Linked DNA regions of Homo sapiens: regions 1 and 2 are each linked to region 3. Evidence: promoter capture Hi-C in 16 types of primary human blood cells and fetal thymus (Javierre and others, 2016). All regions are on one chromosome and are shown on one strand. The core of a region is centred on a gene start or on the middle of the fragment in contact, and the rest is flanking DNA. Distances in the headings are between cores, read along the strand shown. Region 1 holds the start of PPP6R2 (protein phosphatase 6 regulatory subunit 2). Region 2 holds the start of DENND6B (DENN domain containing 6B). Region 3 holds the start of ARSA (arylsulfatase A).

Region 1 (2,700 bases), core at 182-2,681, 280 kb after region 3:
TGACTGGGGGAAACTGACTGGAGGAGGCACTGACTGGGGGGGAACTGACTGGAGGGGGCACTGACTAGGGGGAATTGACTGGAGGGGGCACTGACTGGGGGGCACTGACTGGGGGGAAACTGACTGGGGGGGCACTGACTGGGGGGAACTGACTGGAGGGGGCACTGACTGGGGGAAACTGACTGGAGGAGGCACTGACTGGGGGGAATTGACTGGAGGGGGCACTGACTGGGGGGAATTGACTGGAGGGGGCACTGACTGGGGGGCACTGACTGGGGGGAAACTGACTGGGGGGGCACTGACTGGGGGGGAACTGACTGGAGGGGGCACTGACTGGGGGAACTGACTGAAGGGGGCACTGACTGGGGGGGGAACTGACTGGAGGGGGCACTGACTGGGGGGAATTGACTGGAGGGGGCACTGACTGGGGGGCACTGACTGGGGGGCACTGACTGGGGGGAAACTGACTGGGGGGGCACTGACTGGGGGGAACTGACTGGAGGGGGCACTGACTGGGGGAAACTGACTGGAGGAGGCACTGACTGGGGGAAACTGACTGGAGGAGGCACTGACTGGGGGAAACTGACTGGAGGAGGCACTGACTGGGGGGAAACTGACTAGAGGGGGCACTGACTGGGGGGGAACTGACTAGAGGGGGCACTGACTGGGGGGGAACTGACTAGAGGGGGCACTGACTGGGGGGGGAACTGACTGGAGGGGGCACTGACTGGGGGAAACTGACTGGAGGAGGCACTGACTGGGGGAAACTGACTGGAGGAGGCACTGACTGGGGGGGAACTGACTGGAGGGGGCACTGACTGGGGGGAAACTGACTGGAGGGGGCACTGACTGGGGGGGAACTGACTGGAGGGGGCACTGACTGGGGGGCACTGACTGGGGGGAAACTGACTGGGGGGAAACTGACTGGGGGGGAACTGACTGGGGGGGAACTGACTGGAGGGGGCACTGACTGGGGGAACTGACTAGAGGGTGCACTAACTGGGGGGGAACTGACTGGAGGGGGCACTGACTGACTTGGGGGGGGCACTGACTCCGGGGGCACCGACTGGGGGGAACTGACTGGAGGGGGAACTGACTGACTGGGGGATAACTATCTGGAGGGGGCACTGACTGACTCGGGGAGAAGTGACTTGGGGGGCACTGGCAGACTGGGGGCCGGGTCTGAGCGGCGGGCGGCCGCACTCACCTGCCCTGCGGGCCGGGCGTCGCGGCAGCTCTTCGGAGGCCCGTGTGGAGGCCCGAGCGGAGGCCAGGGCGCTGGTGGAGGCAAAGCCCGGGCGGCCTCGGGCGGGCCGCACACACATGGGCCCGGCCGAGGGCGCAGCGCCTACGGACACCGGCACGGCCGGCCGGCGGCTCGAGACCGACTCGGGGCCGCGGGCGGCACTCCGATCGCTCCAAAATGGCGGCGGCGGCGCACGGGCACGCGCTCCGGGGGCGGGGTCTCCGCTTGGGGCGCGCACGCTCGCGGCCGGGGGCGGGGCCGCGCGGGTGGGCGGGGCCGGGACCTGGGCCGGCTCTCCGGGCCCCCTGGAGTGGGGCACTCGGTGAAACCCGCGTGGGAGCACGAGGGCTTGGGTGTGCTGACTGCTGCCTTGGAGTGGGTGGGGTAAGAGTGCGTCTTTCCCCTTTTACGTTTCCCTTTGAGGTATTGGCTAAAGTTTTGTGCAAGCATAGTTAATTTTGTTGTAGCCACAAAACAATCCTCGCGTGGCCCGACGCAGCATTTGAGAGACACACACCTGGGGCAGGGGTTTCCCCCGTGGCCCAGGAAAGGGCCTGTTCTCCCGGGCCTCCCTCCTGCCACAGGCCCCTCCCAGAGGCCGCGGGGCGTGGACGCCCCGAGCAGCAGGAGCGGGCTCAGCCCCGGGCGCCAGGCCTGGCCCCTCCCCGTCCCGCGTCCTGCCTGGACCCGGAGTGCCTGAGCCGCCTCCAGACAGTTTTCTCCAGGTGCGCTACGGGTTCTTGCACGGCGTTTTGCAAATTAAGTATGTGCCTATTTAACAAGTGCTGGAATTGTTTAATTCCATCAAAATAATTTCAAAAATGATTACTATTATTTCAGATGTTAGAGCGAGCCGTGGGTAAATGTTGGGAAAACATGGAGCACTTAAGGGATCTCTAAACGTTTTTTCCAGTTGTCAGTGTATTGCCCAGGATTCACCGATGCTCTCTGCGAAAGCGTATCTGGGCGGCTCAAATATTCGGTATTTCTCTTTTGCCAGCTGGCGCTGTTAGGCTTTGTCGGTAGAGGGCGCCAGAGACGTTGCAGGAGAAAAGGGCTTGGCCCTGCGGCTGGCGGCCCCGGGCTTCCCCGACGCCTGTCCCCTGCCCTGGTCAGCAGCACCCTCCTCGCCGGTTTTATAGCAGATGCCTCTGGCGAGCCTTTCCCCAGCAAAAGCTTTTCCCCTAGCATCCTAAGGGGCAGATTTCTGGCAGGTTCCGTTGAGGGAACTTCCAGGAAGTGGGGGTGAAAAAGCCTCAGCCTCACAACCTAGAGAAGAGACACCCTGCGTTCAGCAGGCTATGCCCTTCTCCTGCCCTCACCATGGTCTCCTTTGCAGGAGCGGGAGGTGCTGCTGAGTTGAGCTACGGAATGGGGACTGGGGCCAGGGGCACCAGATGCAGGAGATGCTCCTGCTGCCGTGAGCACGTGCAACTCTGCCTGATCTTGATACC
Region 2 (2,700 bases), core at 2-2,501, 300 kb after region 3:
AGCAACATTCTGTCTCAAAAAAAACAACAGAAACAAACAAACAAAAAACAATACGGCCATGTGCTACTCAACGGTGAAGCTATGTCCTGAGAAATGTGTCATTAGGCGATTTTGTTATGTGACAAACCTAGATGGGACAGCCTACCCCACACCTAGGCCAGATGATCCGAACAACACGTGGTAATCTTTTATTTTTTTATTTTTGAGATGGAGTCTCACTCTGTCGCCCAGGCTGGAGTGCAATGGCGACATCTCAGCTCACTGCAAGCTTCGCCTCCGGGGTTCAAACGATTCTCCTGCCTCAGCCTCCCCAATAGCTGGGGTTACGGCGCTCGCCAGCCACCACGCCCGGCTAATTTTTGTATTTTCAGTAGAGACAGGGTTTCACCAGGTTGGTCTCGATTTCCTGGATTCGTGATCCGCCACCCCACCTCGGCCTCCCAAAGCGGTGAGATTACAGGCGTGAGCCACCGCGTCTGGCCAACACGTGGTAATCTGAAGGGACCACCACAGTATATGCGGCCCGCCTTCCACGGAAACGTCATGAGGCCCACGACTCAAAGGCGTGCCTCATTAAGTTACCGACAGCCCCAAACTCGCCCTTCCACGCCGGGCCTCAAGGTGCTCTGTGGACCACAGCGGGGCCCGGGGCCCTCGCGAGGGAGGGAAGAGTTCGCTCCAGGTCCCCGCGATTCCCCCGGAAAGTGAAACTGCAGAGGTGTTGCGTGGACACCCGCGGTCAGACACGACCCCAGGCCGCGCGGGCCCCAGAGGAAGCGAGCGCGAGTCCGCGGTGGTGGCTGGGCGCTCAGTGAGGACGCCATTCCGCCACGAAAACGCCCGCGACGCCGCTGGCCCCTGCGCGGTGGGGCGAGGTAGGCTGGCCGGACCTGCGAAGCCCGACGAGCCCGGCGCCGGCTGGCTGCAGCTTGCTCTGCCTCCCTGGCCTGGCCCCGAGGCTCCCGCGAGCCGGGATCCGCGAACACCGGGGCCGAACCGACTCTCTCGGGCCTCAGACGGCGTGGACCCTGGAAGGCCCCAGTTCGGCCGCTTCCCCGGAAGTCCCCCAGTGGGCTCCGGCCGCTCTGGCCCGCGCGCGTCCGGCTCGCTGGTGCCCTGGGCGGCGCCCGGCCGCTGGCGCTTCTCGGGCGCTAGGGGGCGCGCGGCCGCGCGGGAGCCGCACTGGGCCGCGGCGGCCGCTCGACTGTTCTGAGGAGCGGCCCGGACGCGCGCCGCCCCCGCCCGCGTTTCCCCGGCAACCCGCGGCCGCCGCCATGGACGCGCTGTTGGGCACAGGGCCTCGCCGGGCTCGCGGCTGCCTGGGCGCGGCTGGACCCACGTCTTCAGGTCGCGCGGCGCGGACCCCGGCGGCGCCCTGGGCGCGCTTCTCCGCCTGGCTGGAGTGTGTGTGCGTGGTCACCTTCGACCTGGAGCTGGGCCAGGCGCTGGAGGTGAGCGGGCGCGAGCGCGGGCGCGGGCGGGTGGGCAGGGCTGCGCCTCTCGGGGCCAGTCCCGCCTCGCTTGGGGCCCTCGGCCGCCCCGCACTCTCCCTGGCCTTCGGCCGCCGCCTCCTGGAGGGGCCTCTTCTCCGGGCTCCAGAAGCGCTCCCCAGGCCGAGGAGGGAAGGCGAGCTGCTCGGAGTCGGATCTTGTCTTCACATTGGGATGGAGCATTTTGCATAACCTAAGTGGTACTCTTTCGATTTTTCCCAGTAAATGTCTCACATCTCCCCCCTCCATTCCCCACCGGAGCAGTGACACCTTCATCCCCTCAGTGGCTCCCGCCAGAGTCCCGGGCTTACCCTCCGCTCCGCATCCCATCTCTGGGCATAGGCGAGGCTGACGGCTCCTTCTGCAACAAAGGTCTCGGATCCGTTCCTTTGCTGCCATCACTGATGTCATCCCCACCCCAGCTGCACCCCAGAGTTCAACCTTTGTGGCTCTCCTGCTTAAAACCCTGCAGCGCCTCCTTGTTCACCTAGCATCAGATCCAGACCCCATGGGCCCCGTCCCTCCACCTGCGTCTTGTGGTGTTCTTGCTCGTGGGGGTCTGTTCATCGGCTGTGCCCATGGGCTTTCGATGTGGTCTTTCTGCTGCCTGCAGGCCTCCACTCACCTACCCACACAGGCAGCCTCCTTTCCTCCAGGGAGGCCCCGCAGGATGATCTTCTCTGTGTCCTGTGTAACACACACCAGGGAGCTGACCAGCACAGGGGAGGCCCACCTGCAGATGGAGGGAGGCTTCCCCGCGCTGGCGCAAGGAACCTCGTGAGGGGTAGTGAGCTCTCTATTACCGCAGGTGTCCAAGATCAGGCCAAATCATCATCATCAGGAAAGCCAGGCAGCGCGTCTCTGTGGTTGGGAGATGCTTTCTAAGGCCCTGCTGAACTCCAAGAGGCCATGAGAAGCATATAGTCTTCTAAACAGAAAAGCATTAACTCTAGCACTCTCTGGAGCCCCTCCCACCACACACGGTCCCCAGCAGGTGCACAGCCTCAAACAGCATCACTGGGTGGGGGCTGAGTACCAAGAAGTGTGGTGACCTGCCCAGGGTTGAAAACCTTTCTTAGTTCAATACTGTTGCCCAGATTGTTCCCCACAAAATCACAAAAGAAGTTAAGAGGTTCCTGGCCGGACGCGGTGACTCATGCCTGTAATCCCAGCACTTTGAGAGGCCGAGGCAGGCAGATCACAAGGTCAG
Region 3 (2,700 bases), core at 201-2,700:
TCGGAAGCTTATATACCATCTTGAGGTTACAGAAAGAACATGGGCTCAAAGTATGGCCACAGTTTATGGTGGAAAATCAGGTGACCAGTGGCAAGACCGGTTACAGGAGGGAGAGCAGAGGAGGCCTGGCTAGCAAAGGTGGCCTTGTTCTACAGATGAAACCTCACAGGTAGCAGCCCTGAGAGAGAACAGATGGTGAATGTTCCCTTCAGGCCTTTAAAGGCGTCAGACTGTTACTCTTCCCAGATCAGGCAAGGAGGGCCTCAGAGGAGGCCTGGCCGCATCAGTGTAGATTCTCTCCACAGATGCAAATCTCCCCCACAAAAGACAGCTTTTCAGCTATTCTTCTATTTCCAGTCCTTCTGAGTAACTGTCTTGAACCGTGTCAAGGAAATATATTTGGAGGTGACATATTGTGTTTTCCTTCAAGATCAAAAAGGTTAAGTCCAAGGCTGCCCAACGAGGGAGCGAGGACCCAATCACGTTGTCCTCAGATGAGTTTTTCCCCAGCAGCGTAACCCTGCAACAGGCCAGACTGGACCCCAGACACACATTCCACACCACACCACGCCTCCACCACCACACGCACACAACAGACACACCCTAAACACCAGACACACACACACACCTCAACCACCGCAAACACACATACGCCACACCTCTAACACCACACACACCCAACACCACACACATACGTGCCTCAAACACTACACACACCTCAACCACCATACACCTCAACCACACACACCCCTCAAACACCAAACACACCCCTCAACCACACACACACACCCCTCAAACACCACACACCCACCTCAAACACCACACACACATATCCCTCAAACACTACAAAAACACACACACACACCTCAAACACCACACATGCACACACACCTGAAACACCACACACCTGCCTCAAACACTCCACACACACCACACACAGACACGTACACAGCCCCCCGCACCCAGCCACAGCTTACACGCACACAGACACGCGTACGCAGGAGAAAGGGTGTCAAAGCTTTTGCTAGTCGTGAAGGAAGAGCCCGCAGTCCATGGGGCTGCACGGTTTTCCCTGCCATTTGCTCATTCACCGGGTGCCCATAACGCTCCGCGCTCAGGTCTCTTACAGGAGGGCCCGAGTCTCCCAGTACCGGAGGTCTGGGGGCGCACGAGCCGCTCCTCCTCTGGAGAAGCTCCGGACCGAGAGGACACCGGACACTGCGCAGCGCCGAGCCCCGCGCGCAGCCCGGGACGCCTCAGCCAGGGCCGACCGCGCAGAGGAAGCTCCCAGAGCCCGTTTCAAGACCGCAGCCAACAGCCTCAGGCGCACACGGCGGCCTCGGAGCGAGCACGCGCAGCAACGCCCCTCGCCCCGGCCCGCCCCCGGCCCCGCCCCCGGCCCCGCCCCCGGCCCCGCCCCGCAAGGGTCACAGGTCACGGGGCGGGGCCGAGGCGGAAGCGCCCGCAGCCCGGTACCGGCTCCTCCTGGGCTCCCTCTAGCGCCTTCCCCCCGGCCCGACTCCGCTGGTCAGCGCCAAGTGACTTACGCCCCCGACCCTGAGCCCGGACCGCTAGGCGAGGAGGATCAGATCTCCGCTCGAGAATCTGAAGGTGCCCTGGTCCTGGAGGAGTTCCGTCCCAGCCCGCGGTCTCCCGGTACTGTCGGGCCCCGGCCCTCTGGAGCTTCAGGAGGCGGCCGTCAGGGTCGGGGAGTATTTGGGTCCGGGGTCTCAGGGAAGGGCGGCGCCTGGGTCTGCGGTATCGGAAAGAGCCTGCTGGAGCCAAGTAGCCCTCCCTCTCTTGGGACAGACCCCTCGGTCCCATGTCCATGGGGGCACCGCGGTCCCTCCTCCTGGCCCTGGCTGCTGGCCTGGCCGTTGCCCGTCCGCCCAACATCGTGCTGATCTTTGCCGACGACCTCGGCTATGGGGACCTGGGCTGCTATGGGCACCCCAGCTCTACCACTCCCAACCTGGACCAGCTGGCGGCGGGAGGGCTGCGGTTCACAGACTTCTACGTGCCTGTGTCTCTGTGCACACCCTCTAGGTAAAGAGGGGGCCGCGCCTCTTCCCCGCCCCGACCCTCCATCCCTTTCCTCCCAATGGATTGCAGGGGGGCGGGAAAAACGTCTGTCTCTCTCTCTAGGGAAGGCCACATTTCTGTCTGTCTCAGGGACTCTGTGACTTGTCCCGCAGGGCCGCCCTCCTGACCGGCCGGCTCCCGGTTCGGATGGGCATGTACCCTGGCGTCCTGGTGCCCAGCTCCCGGGGGGGCCTGCCCCTGGAGGAGGTGACCGTGGCCGAAGTCCTGGCTGCCCGAGGCTACCTCACAGGAATGGCCGGCAAGTGGCACCTTGGGGTGGGGCCTGAGGGGGCCTTCCTGCCCCCCCATCAGGGCTTCCATCGATTTCTAGGCATCCCGTACTCCCACGACCAGGTAGGAACCACCCGGGCCCTCAGCCACCCTCCCACCTCCCAAAGTCCCCCAGCCCTTGATGCTCCCGCAGCCCCACCTGCCAGCCCAGCCCTCACGGCAGCTGCCCGCCTCAGGGCCCCTGCCAGAACCTGACCTGCTTCCCGCCGGCCACTCCTTGCGACGGTGGCTGTGACCAGGGCCTGGTCCCCATCCCACTGTTGGCCAACCTGTCCGTGGAGGCGCAGCCCCCCTGGCTGCCCGGACTAGAGGCCCGCTACATGGCTT

What was found. The method cuts DNA at HindIII sites, captures the fragments that hold promoters and counts their contacts. A CHiCAGO score of 5 or more calls a contact.
Region 1: the fragment with the promoter of PPP6R2 here is called in contact with the fragment with the promoter of ARSA in region 3 in 12 of 17 cell types (neutrophils, activated CD4 T cells, M0 macrophages and 9 more); the score reaches 8.8 in neutrophils.
Region 2: a contact is called between the fragment with the promoter of DENND6B here and the fragment with the promoter of ARSA in region 3, in 4 of 17 cell types (neutrophils, M1 macrophages, naive CD8 T cells and 1 more). The highest score is 7.7, in neutrophils.

What each region holds. Positions count from the first base shown.
Region 1 is chr22:50,342,058-50,344,757 of GRCh38, reverse strand. PPP6R2 (protein phosphatase 6 regulatory subunit 2) reads right to left here and starts at 1,431. Exons shown (of 24, transcript NM_001242898.2): 1 at 1,208-1,431. RefSeq lists silencers at 1,171-1,250, 1,261-1,540, 1,811-1,980 and an enhancer at 2,077-2,700. The HindIII fragment of the contact is 9,108 bases long and covers 1-2,424 here.
Region 2 is chr22:50,325,563-50,328,262 of GRCh38, reverse strand. DENND6B (DENN domain containing 6B) reads left to right here and starts at 1,251. Exons shown (of 20, transcript NM_001001794.4): 1 at 1,251-1,451. The coding sequence starts at 1,275. RefSeq lists a silencer at 863-1,502. The HindIII fragment of the contact is 18,876 bases long and covers 271-2,700 here.
Region 3 is chr22:50,626,902-50,629,601 of GRCh38, reverse strand. ARSA (arylsulfatase A) reads left to right here and starts at 1,450. Exons shown (of 8, transcript NM_000487.6): 1 at 1,450-2,046; 2 at 2,196-2,436; 3 at 2,550-2,700. The coding sequence starts at 1,823. RefSeq lists a silencer at 1,366-1,555 and an enhancer at 2,490-2,700. The HindIII fragment of the contact is 2,215 bases long and covers 1,021-2,700 here.